3 separate regions of the Homo sapiens genome follow, and regions 1 and 3 are each linked to region 2. The links are contacts of gene promoters, found by promoter capture Hi-C in human tissues and cell types (Jung and others, 2019). All regions are on one chromosome and are shown on one strand. Each heading gives the region's core, a stretch centred on a gene start or on the middle of the fragment in contact. The rest is flanking DNA. Distances are from core to core; before and after follow the strand shown.

The links. The method cuts DNA at HindIII sites, captures the fragments that hold promoters and counts their contacts. A contact is called where the count stands out against the background at its distance.
Region 1: a contact is called between a fragment that was not itself captured here and the fragment with the promoter of CMA1 in region 2, in 1 of the 25 tissues and cell types used here (bladder).
Region 3: a fragment that was not itself captured here is called in contact with the fragment with the promoter of CMA1 in region 2 in 6 of the 25 tissues and cell types used here (H1 embryonic stem cells, aorta, heart right ventricle and 3 more).

The regions. Positions count from the first base shown.
Region 1 is chr14:24,469,433-24,473,541 of GRCh38, reverse strand. All of the region lies in intron 2 of LOC101927045 (a long non-coding RNA gene), which reads right to left. Among named protein-coding and RNA genes, the nearest start is that of SDR39U1, 29 kb to the right of the region's middle. The HindIII fragment of the contact is 3,573 bases long and covers 1-3,209 here.
Region 2 is chr14:24,506,407-24,510,075 of GRCh38, reverse strand. It overlaps CMA1 (chymase 1), which reads left to right and starts at 1,811. Exons shown (of 5, transcript NM_001836.5): 1 at 1,811-1,898; 2 at 2,570-2,720; 3 at 3,472-3,607. The coding sequence starts at 1,841. RefSeq lists an enhancer at 2,003-3,202. The HindIII fragment of the contact is 12,986 bases long and covers 1-3,669 here.
Region 3 is chr14:24,567,748-24,571,595 of GRCh38, reverse strand. No RefSeq gene overlaps it. Among named protein-coding and RNA genes, the nearest start is that of CTSG, 6.6 kb to the left of the region's middle. The HindIII fragment of the contact is 6,762 bases long and covers 1-3,848 here.

The DNA.
Region 1 (4,109 bases), core at 174-2,673, 36 kb after region 2:
TCCTACACCAGGACCTTTCAGGCAGAGCTGCCCGCCAGTCCCGCATGCGCCCACACTCCTCAGCCCTTGGGCAGTTGATGGGACCAGGAGCCCTGGAGCAGGGGGCAGTGCTTGTCGAGGAGGCTCAGGCTGCGCAGGAGCCCAGGGCAGTGGGGAGGCTTGGGCATGGCGGGCTGCAGGTTCCGAGCCCTGCCCCACGGAGAGGCAGCTGAGGCCTGGCAAGAATTCAAGTGCAGCACCTGCCAGCTGGCACTGCTAGAGAACCCGGTGCACCCTCCCCAGCTGCTGGCCAGGTGCTAAGCCCTAGTGCGGGCTGCCGATCCCACGCCCACCCGGAACTCACACTGGCCCCCGAGTGCCGCGCCCAGCCCCGGTTCCCACCTGCGCCTCTCCCTCCACACCTCCCCGCAAGCAAAGGGAGCCGGCTCCAGCCTCAGCCAGCCGAGAGAGGGGCTCCCACAGTGCAGCGGCAGAATAAAGGGCTCCTCAAGCATGGCCAGAGTGGGCGCCAAGGCCAAGGCACCGCCAAGAGTGAGCAAGGGCTGCCAGGGCTGCCAGCACGCTGTCACCTCTCACTAATACTAGGGAACCCAAAATATGTTGTGGTCCATCTGTTAGAGTTGCACTTGAAAGGCACCAAATGATAAAGGAAGCCCTATCCTAAATCTATCCCACAGTGGGCCAGTTGGGTCCTTGAACCTACCCTTTGGTAAATACCCTGGTCCCTGAGTGCATACTTTTAATGTATAGGCAGCACTTAAATGCTGATGGAACTCTCATGATTCCCTGACTTATAAAATAAGAGGCATTACGGTAAAAAAGGCTTTAGTTGTCCACAACCTAGCCAAGATGGCAAATCAGAAACAATACAACATTCCAGGTAAAATGGCAGAATTTGGTGGTAGCCTCAAAGATTTAAATGATACAGAAATGGTCACCTGGAAAACCAAATACACCCTAGCAGATGATAGCAGACTACTCTACCAAGTGGTGGAGCAGCGGTTACTGCAGTTTTGTATGTTGTGTCTTCATTAGAATAGAGCAACACAGCCTCTAGCATTTGATATGTGACTTTTGATAAGGCAAATGTGTTCTTTTAGTTCCCGTCAGGAGGAAGGATCAGAACAGTTTGCATTCACCCAGTATGGAAAGCAGTCTCATCTCAGCACTATATTAAACCTCCGGTTCTCTCTCAACACAGTCCAAAGAGACCTTTGCATCTGGACATTTCACAGATCATCAGATGGATCCGCTATATTGACGACATGGACTACAAAGAGGCACAGTGCCCGGCAGGCCTCTTTGGATTTTGCACATAGCATATAACACTCTTGGGAATACTGCTCCAGCCCATTTAATGGGTTTTCTCAGAAGGCTGCTGTCAGCTTTTCAGAGGATCTCCCAAAACAAGAGAGTCCTGCGGCATGTTCATCCTGCTGTATGAGCAGCCCTGGCCCGTAATCATATGACCCAGCAGATTCCATGGGTGCTAAAGGTAGCCATGACAGATAAGGGTGGGCACCTCTGAAATGACTGACAAGCCCTCATAAGTGAATTATAGCACAGACCTCTAGGGTTCCATAGTAAGGTTATGCCATATGTAGCAGAGAACTATTTACCATATGAAAAGTAGTTCCCAGGGTGCTACTGGGCCCTAGCAGACACTGAATATCTGACCATGGGACATAAGGGTGACTGTGTGATCACAGCTGTCCATCATGAGCTGAATCATATCAGAACCACCAAGTCATAGTATAAGGCAAGCACTCCTAGGGACCAACGTGGTAAATTTGGCTTTTCTGTCCCTACAATTTTAGGTCCCACTTAATAAAGGTCCTCATTTCCAAGCACAGAGTGGGGGATTTGCTTTCACCAGGGCCAGGGATACAATAAGGGTTTCACTAAAAAATAAAGTTACGGCTGCCAACTGTCATGTCAAGCTTCTTTTGACAGTAGATCTCTAGGCAACAGTGAAGTTACTAAATGACCCTGGTTATCATGAAGAGATCAAGTTGTTGCCACAAAACAATGTAATTGTGGCCCAGAAAGCAGTACAAGACACTTCTTGATGCTTCTACCCAGTGATAACTATAACACACAATTGCAGAAATCCTGCCTTAACAATGGCACGGTAACCTTAGAGATAAAGATCCGATTTGCCTTATTGAATAAACAACCTAAACCATCAGAAGTGCTTGCCAGGGAGTTAGGGTAGGGAATGCAGAAAAGGTGCTAAAGGAAGATAATGACTGTTAATAATGACCTCAGGACTCACTGTAAAAGTATGGACTGTAGCGAATGGAAGAAAATTTTTGCAGTCTACCCATCTGACAAAGAGCTAATATCCAGAATCTACAAAGAACTTAAACAAATTTACAAGAAAAAAACAACCCCATCAAAAAGTGGGCAAAGGATATGAACAGACACTTCTCAAAAGAAGACATTTATGCAGCCAACAGACACATGAAAAAACGCTCATCATCACTGGTCATCAGAAAAATGCAAATCAAAACCACAATGAGATACCATCTCACACCAGTTAGAAAGGCGATCATTAAAAAGTCAGGAAACAACAGATGCTGGAGAGGATGTGGAGAAATAGGAACGCTTTTACACTCTTGGTGGGAGTGGAAACTAGTTCAACCATTGTGGAAGGGAGTGTGGTGATTCCTCATGGATCTAGAACTAGAAATACCATTTGACCCAGCCATCCCATTACTGGGTATATACCCAAAGGATTATAAATCATGCTAGTATAAAGACACATGCACACTTATGTTTATTTCAGCACTATTCACAATAGCAAACACTTGGAACAAACCCAAATGTCAATCAATGATAGACTGGATTAAGAAAATGTGGCACATATACATCATGGAATACTATACAGTCATAAAAAAGGATGAGTCCATGTTCTTTGTAGGGACATGGATGAAGCTGGAAACCATCATTCTGAGCAAACTATCACAAGGACAGAAAACCAAACACTGCATATTCTCACTCATAGGTGGGAATCGAACAATGAGAACACTTGGACACAGGGTGGGGAACATCACACACAGGGGCCTGTCGTGGGGTGGGGGGCAGGGGGAGGGATAGCATTAGGAGAAATACCTAATATAAGTGACGAGTTAATGGGTGCAGCAAATCAACGTAGCACATGTATATCTATGTAACAAACCTGCACATTGTGCACATGTACCCTAGAACTTAATGTATAATAAAAATAAAATAAAATTATGAAAAAAAGTATGGACTGTAGCTTGTCCCTATAAAAATATTTTTTAAGATGCTATTAATATTTGTATGACATTTTCATTTTTAAATTTTGTTATTGATATATAATTGTACATATTTATGGAGTACATACATGGTGATGTTTTGATACATATAATGTATAGTGGTCAGGTCAGGGTAATTAGCATATCCATCATCTAAAACATCATTTCTTCGTGTTGAGGACAGTCAATATCCTCCTTCTAGCTATTTGAAACTATATATTATTGTTAACTATAGTTATCCTATGGTGCTATAGAACCCTAGAACTCATTCTTGCTATCTAGCTCTAATTTTGTATCCTTTAACAAATCTCCTCCTCTCCCCACCCCCTTCTCTAGTATCTAGTACCCTCTTGTTCTACTTTTTACTTCTATGAGATCAACTTTTCTTTAGCTTCCCAAATGAGTGAGAACATGTGGTGTTTAACTTTCTGTTCCTGGCTTATTTCACTTAACATAATGTCCTCTAGTTCTATCCATGCCATTGCAAATGAAAGGATTTCATTCTTTGTTATGGCTGAATGTGGCTTGATGAATTTATTCCATTGTGTACATATACCACATTTTCTTTATCCATTCATCTGTTGTTGGACACCTAGGTTGATTATATATCTTGGCTTATTGTGAATAGTGCTGAAATAAACTTAGGGATGCACATGTTTCTTCAATATACTGATTTCCTTTCCTTTGGATAAATGCCCAGTAGTGGGATTGTTAGATCATGTGGTAGTTCTGTTTGTAGTTTCTTGAGGAACCTCCATACTTTTCTCCATAGTGGCTGTACTAGTTCACATTCCCACCAACAGTATATAAGAGTTCCCTTTACTCCAC
Region 2 (3,669 bases), core at 562-3,061:
GCCCCAGACTACCTGCCTCTCAATTTCTAATTATATCAGTGAAAGCAAACAGCTTTGATTTGTTTAAGCCTCTGATTTTTTGGTCTAACTGATGTAAGACCACAAGACAAGAGTTCTCCAGCTCCGGATTCTCTTCTGTTCTGTTAATGGTGAAATGCCCAGAGAAGAGTTGCCAACTTTGGCAAATAAAAAATACAGGATTCCAGTTAAATTCAAATTTTAGATAAACAACAATTTTTTAGTATTAGTGTGTCCCATTCAATATTTGGACATACTTAACTAAAAAATGATTTGTTGTTCATCTGAAATACAAATTTAACTGGGCATTCTGAATATTCTCTGGCAACCCCCGAGAGAGTGAAGAAAGTGGTACAAGGACACTTAAGAAGACCAGATTTGAAAAGACATTACGGATGTGTTTAAATGTCTTATTCTAGAGAGAGTTAGAGCTGTAGGTAGAACTTGGGAAATTAAGTTAAAAGCAACAGAGGACCTGGCCAATATATACTAAGGAGTGGATCACTCTGGTCACAAGCCCAACCTGAGACCAAGGGCATAGTGAGATGATTTGGGAAAGGCACTTATACACTACTCATCCCCGTCTTTGAACTAAATGCCTTATAAATCTCCAAGAGAAATGACAGTCCACCATGTGGACTGCTTTCTGTAAGTCCAGGGAAAATAAAAGCTATGTGCTTGAAACCCACTTCTGATATTATAAGGTGTGTGATCTTTGTCATGTTAATGGGTCTGAGTATCAATTCTACAATTGTAAAGTGACAGTAATGGTGTGTCCCCAGGTTGTTGTGGAAAGCTTGATTCTTAATGCAACAGTAGGAAACCCCAACCTCTCTGGAGCAAACACCCTTCTACATCTTTACTTCCCCTGCACATTGGCAGGACTCTATTCCTCTATTTCTCTCTAGTGCTAGAGCAGAAAGGGACCTTGATTTGATATCAGGAAAATCTATTTCTGAACCATAAGCTATGATAGCTGATTTAAAAAATTGACTATCATGACATGATAATGATCATAATGGTAATACATATTGATAGGGTTGCCGTGAAAGTAATAATATATCTAAGAGTTGTGACAATATATGATACACCTAGACTCTCAGAAAATGCTAATTCCAATCCCAATTGCTCTTTGCATAAAGTTCTGTCCTAGGGTCTGTTCTTTTCCCACATCTACCCTCCTTGGATCTCTCTTCTGTCAAAAACATGTGGTTCAGAGGAGGAGAGAGATCCAGGTCAATGTTTTTCAAATTACAAGGAATTATCATTTAAATGGGGTTGTTGCTCAAGTTTTGACGTGTAGTGGAATGGAGTGGAGTGGAGTGGAATGGAAACTAACAGAAAACACTGCACATGGTTAAGATAAAGATTGTTTCCTGAAACCTTTAATTTGTGCTTACATACTCACACATACATATGTGCATGCACTGGGACTCTGCAATATGCATTTCTGACTATGGAACATAGCCATAAAAGTCTTTGCACTGAACGTTCAGTGGGCCTTTCACAAGCTGCCCTAATTGGGAAAGAAAAACATGGTCCCTCCATTTCCTGCCCCCAACTCCAGAAAAGTCACCATAGTTGAGGGTACATCTGAGAAGCCAGCACTTGGGAGTTCAGGGCTCAAGTTCCTTTCTAGAAAAACACTGGGTGATTCTAGGGGAACTTCTGATCAGAAACAGCCAATTCAGAGTGAGAGAAGAAAACGTGACCATGCAGTTCCTGTGGTTACCAGCCTTGCCCCTCTCTTGCCTTCTGGGAGTTATAAAACCCAAGACTGGAAAGGAAAACCAGCATTTGCTCAGGCAGCCTCTCTGGGAAGATGCTGCTTCTTCCTCTCCCCCTGCTGCTCTTTCTCTTGTGCTCCAGAGCTGAAGCTGGTGAGTATCAGGGTTCTTCCCTCTGAAATCTGCAGTATCAGCTCCTGAAACAAAGATGTTTAGTCTGAAAATAGCTGACTCCTAAACAGGGTTCCAAGATCTCTCTTCAAGAGTCCCAGAGGGAAATTTCCACTTGGGATGTGTGCCACCCCACCCCCACCCCCACCCACTGCCATTCTCTACAGCCTAGGACAGCCCCCAGGAACAAGGAATTTCACCTCAATTGTAGAAAAGCCCAGAGCAAGTGGAAGGAAAAGGGGTATCCCCAGGAAAACAGACATGTCCTCTTAATCTTCTGAGCATCAGGGCTACCCATTACTTTGTGACTTTCTCACTCTGTGACCATGCTCAAGAGCTATGGAGAAATCTAAAACAGGAACCTGGACAGTGGGTCCTACACAGAGACAGAGGAGGGTGGGCCAGGGCAAGGTGGGAGTGGGAGAAGTCTGAGATGAAAACATCAGAATGGAGCAGAGGCAAGAATGAGATTTCACCTGGGAGGTTATGGGTGGGGAAAGATACGAAATACAGGAGACAGGAGAGGGAAGATGGGCGGAACACAGGGTGAGAATGAGATTCCAGGGAAGCCTAGCTCAGCTTTAACCCAATTTGTCCATTCATTGGAGAGAGTATCTATGGCCGTGTTCAAACCCTGGGGTGCTCTGTTCCAGGGGAGATCATCGGGGGCACAGAATGCAAGCCACATTCCCGCCCCTACATGGCCTACCTGGAAATTGTAACTTCCAACGGTCCCTCAAAATTTTGTGGTGGTTTCCTTATAAGACGGAACTTTGTGCTGACGGCTGCTCATTGTGCAGGAAGGTGAGACAACAGGGTCTATTTATCTCCAAATGGGAGATGAACAACCAGAGTAGCATCCAGGAATACACCTGCACTGGGGACTGAAGAGGGGGTCCTGGGTCTTGTCAACTTTCAGGAGAGGGAAGACTTGGGCTGAAAGACTTTAGTCTGTGTTTGAATAGTTCCTTGAGCCTCAGTCACTGTGAGCTAAGCTCCCCTTCGGAGGAAAAGGAGGTCCTGTCCAAGGTCCCTCTTGTTGCAGTAGCACCCCTCACCCCTACCCAACTCAAGACACACGGCTCACTTTTCAGGGCCCCACCCAGTCTCAGGGCCACTTCCTCTATGGCCTTTTCAAGAACACTGGCCTCTAGTTCTCAGGGTCCTGAACCCATCATTTTATGGGAGGCAGAGAACAGGGTCTACATGAGACCCCCACTTTCCCGTTTAACTGATATCTCCTGCTTCAGGGGCTGGCCCTCATGCAGGGTTCCCTGAATTAGGAAGTGTGAACCCTGTCCCCTGAGTCCTCCCTGGCCTGTTCAGTCCCCAGCAATTCCAGGGGTCGTAGAAATTGTGTCTGTTTCCTGAGAAAGCTCTTTCATGAGTTAAGCCTGAGCCCTCAAATGCCACAAGTGGCCCATGAAAAGGGAGATGGGTAGAGTCCGGCGACCCAGTGACAGAGTTTAGTCCTCTTTTCTCAGAATGAGCTCACCTCAGAAGAAACCCCAAGCCATCACTGTCGCTCCTTTTCCTTCCTTCTTCCTCACAACAGGTCTATAACAGTCACCCTTGGAGCCCATAACATAACAGAGGAAGAAGACACATGGCAGAAGCTTGAGGTTATAAAGCAATTCCGTCATCCAAAATATAACACTTCTACTCTTCACCACGATATCATGTTACTAAAGGTGACAACACCTCTCTTCTCCCTTTCCACTTCCCATTCTCCTAAGCTTCTCCTTCAGGTCCT
Region 3 (3,848 bases), core at 607-3,106, 61 kb before region 2:
CATGCTCTGGGGGATAACAGTCTCATTATTAAATGTTTGCACTGACAAATGGAAAGAATACTTGCTAGTAGAAAAGTCCCCCATTCAGCCCTTCCTCCCTGTGGCATTTACTTAGGGCCTCAGAGCACTGCCCAGTCTCAGGACTCAGTCCCCAGGAAGCCCCGAGGGCATTCATCTCATCTTCAGGTCTTTCTCTGCCAGTCAGCACTTCCAAGGCAGCTCTTTGTCTCTGCTGCCCTACTGAAAAGGTCTCTACAGACCCCAGGGTACTCACCTCCAGAAGGTGACCATCCCAGAAGCCAGATCCACCACTTCTAACAAATCTGCACTCTTCCCTGTTGAGTAAACCTCATCAGCAGAACTTTGGCAAGAAAGCATTTTGCACAATGAAAACCAGTGCAAAAGAACACAATTCTTTCTTTTTCCACGTGCAGACTTTGTGCGTTAGAAGCCTTATCAACTTGAATGGAAAGTCATAAAATTATGGTAAGCTCAGGCACAGAAACCTCACTGGGAACTTCTCCCCCAACCCAACAGCTAAGGCAAAAAGGAGAAGGATTGGGTCAGGTGATGATATTTCAGAAAGAGAAAGTCTTTCTCCTCTTTCTCTCTCTCTCTCTCTCACACACACACACACACACACACACACACACACGCACCCATTCACCCACACTAAGCCATTTTCCTTTTCAAACAACCAAAGGCCAGAGAAGGGGGAGCAGAGAAGAAAGAGTCTGTGTAGATGGAAAATCTGAAGATTCTGAGTTGAGCTCTGCCTCTTCCCGTTCCATGTGGAGCCTTCAGAGGCCCTACCTGCAAGGCCAGGACTGTGTCTGACATGTACATGTAAATGAGAAACCTCTCTCTACTCCAGAATCTCAAGTGTTGCTCCACAAGATTCTGCAGTTGCCTGAAACTGCTACTCAACAGTACAAAGAAGGTCATGGATGACTAGATTCATCAGGGATATTGGTCTGTAGTTTTCTTTTTTGTTGTATCTTTGTCTAGTTTTGGTATCAGGGTGACACTGGCCTCATCGAATGAGTTAGGAAGAATTCCCTACTCCTTGATTTTTTGGTATAGTTTCAGGAAGATTTGTATTAGTTCTTTGTTTGGTAGAATTCAGCTGGTCTTGGGTTTTTTTTGCTGGAATATTTTTATTACTAATTTAATCTCACTACTCACTATTGATCTGTTCAGGAGTTTTATTTCTTCCTGGTTCAATCTCAGGAGATGTTTTCAGTAATTTATCCATTTCCTCTAGGTCTTCTAGTTTGTAAGTATATAATTGTTCATAATAGTCTCTGATGATCTTTGTATTTCTGTGGCATGTTTTAATGTCTCTTTTTCATTTCTGATTGTGTTTATTTGGATTTTCTCTTCTTGGTAAGTCTAGCTAGTGGTTTGTCAATATTGTTTATCTTTTTGAAGAACCAATTTTTTGTTTCATTGGTCCTCTGTAAACTTTTGTTGGTCTCTATTACATTTAGTTCTCCTCTGATCTTTGTTATTTCTGTTATTCTTTTTAATTCTGGGTTTGGTTTGTTCTTGCTTTTCTAGTTCCTTGTCAAACTAGCATTTCTAGTTTGCATTGTTAGGTTGCTTATTTTCAATATTTCTACTTTTTGATGTAGGTATTTAATGCTATAAAATTCCTTCTTAGCACTGCTTTTCCTGTATCCCACAGGTTTTAGTATATAGCATTTTTATTTTCATGTGTTTCAAAAAAAAATTAATTTCTGTGTTAACTTCTTTCTTGACCCAGTGATTGTTCAGAAGCATGTTGTTTAATTCCCATGTATTTTTATGGTTTCCAAAGTTCCTCTGGGTATTGATTTCTACCTTTATTTCACAGTGGTCTGAGAAGATACTTGAGGTAATTTCAATTGTTTAAAATTTGTTAAGACTTGTTTTATAACCTAACGTGGTTTATCTTGAAGAATATTCCATATGCTGATGAAAAGAATGTATATTTTGTAGTTGTTGCATAGAATGTTCTGTATAAGTCCATTTAGTCTAAAGTCCAATTTAAGTCCAATGTTTCTTTGTTAATTTTTTGTCTTGATGATCTATCTAGTCCTGTGAGTGGGATGTTGAAGCTCCCGCTATTATTGTATTGCCACCTCTTTAGGTCTAGTAATATTTGTTTTATTAATTTGGGTGCTCCAATGTTGAATGCATATACATTTAGGACTGCTATATCCTCTTGCTGAATTGATCCCTTTATCATTATATGATGACCTTCTTTGTCTTTTTTCCTGCTTTTTATTTAAAGTCTGTTTTATCTGATACAATATATCTACTTCTGCTAACTTTTGGTTTCCTTTTGTGTAGAATATCTATTTCCACCTCTTTGCTTTGAGTCTATGTGTGTCTTTATTGGTAAGATGAGTTTTGTATGTAGAATATAGTTCAGTCATGTTTTTAATGCATTCTGCCAATCTATATCTTTTTTTTTTTTTTTTTTTTGAGACGGAGTCTCGCTCTGTCGCCCAGGCTGGAGTGCAGTGGCGGGATCTCGGCTCACTGCAAGCTCCGCCTCCCGGGTTCATGCCATTCTCCTGCCTCAGCCTCCCAAGTAGCTGAGACTACAGGCGCCCGCCACTACGCCCGGCTAATTTTTTGTATTTTTAGTAGAGACGGGGTTTCACTGTTTTAGCCGGGATGGTCTCGATCTCCTGACCTCGTGATCCGCCCGCCTCGGCCTCCCAAAGTGCTGGGATTACAGGCGTGAGCCACCGCGCCCGGCCCAATCTATATCTTTTAAGTGGAGCATTTAGTCCATTTACATTCAAGGTTGATATTGATATGTAAAGCTTTATTCCTGTCACTGTTAATTGTTTTCAAGTTGTTTTATAAATTATTTCTTTCTTTTTTTTTTCTCTGTGTTTTTCTCTTTGTGGTTTGATGAAATTCTGTCATGTTGCCATTTGATCCTTTTCTCTTCCTCCTTTGTGTGATTGTTTTATAAGACCTATGAGTTTTATATTTTCATTTGTTTCTGTGATGGTGAATATCAACCTTCTGTTTCCATGTTTAAGACCCCTTTGAGCATTTCCTTTAGGGCTGGTATAGTGGTGACAATTTCCCTCAGTGTTTGCTTCTCTGGGAAAAACTTTATTTCTCCTTCATTTATGAAGCTTATTCTGGCAGAAAATAAAAATCTAGACTGACAATTTTTTCCTTTCAGTACTTTGAATATACCATATCATTCTCTTCTCCTGTGTAAGGTATCTGCTGAAAAGTCTGCTGTTAGTTCAATAAGGTTTCCTTTACAGGTGACTAGATGCTTTTCTCTTGCTAATTTTAAAATTCTTTCTTCTACCTTGACTTTAGACATTCTGAATATAATATGCCATGGTGAAATCCTTTTTGCAATGTATTTTCATGGAGATTGCTAGGCCTCCTATACCTGGGTGTCTAACTTTCTTGCTAGACTTGGGAAGTTTTCATAGATTACCTCCTTAAACAGGGTTTCTAAACTCTGATCTCTTTTCCTCCTTGGGAACACCAATAATTTTTAAGTTTGTTTGCTTTATATAGTCCCAAACATCTGCTTTGTTCATTATTTTTTATTCTTTTTTCCTTATTTTTGTCTGGCTGGATTATTTCAAAAGACCTGTATTCAAATTCTGAGATTGTTTCTTCTGTTAGATCTAGTCTATTATTGAAGCTTTCAAATATTTTTTTTATTTCTTTCAATGAGCTTTTCAATTCCAGAACTTATGCTTTTTTTTTTTAAGGTATCTATCTCCTTGGTAAATTTCTCATTCATTTCTTGAATGCCTTTCTGATTTATTTGTTTGATGCAGATTTCTCTTGCATCTCATTGCACTTCTTCAGAATCA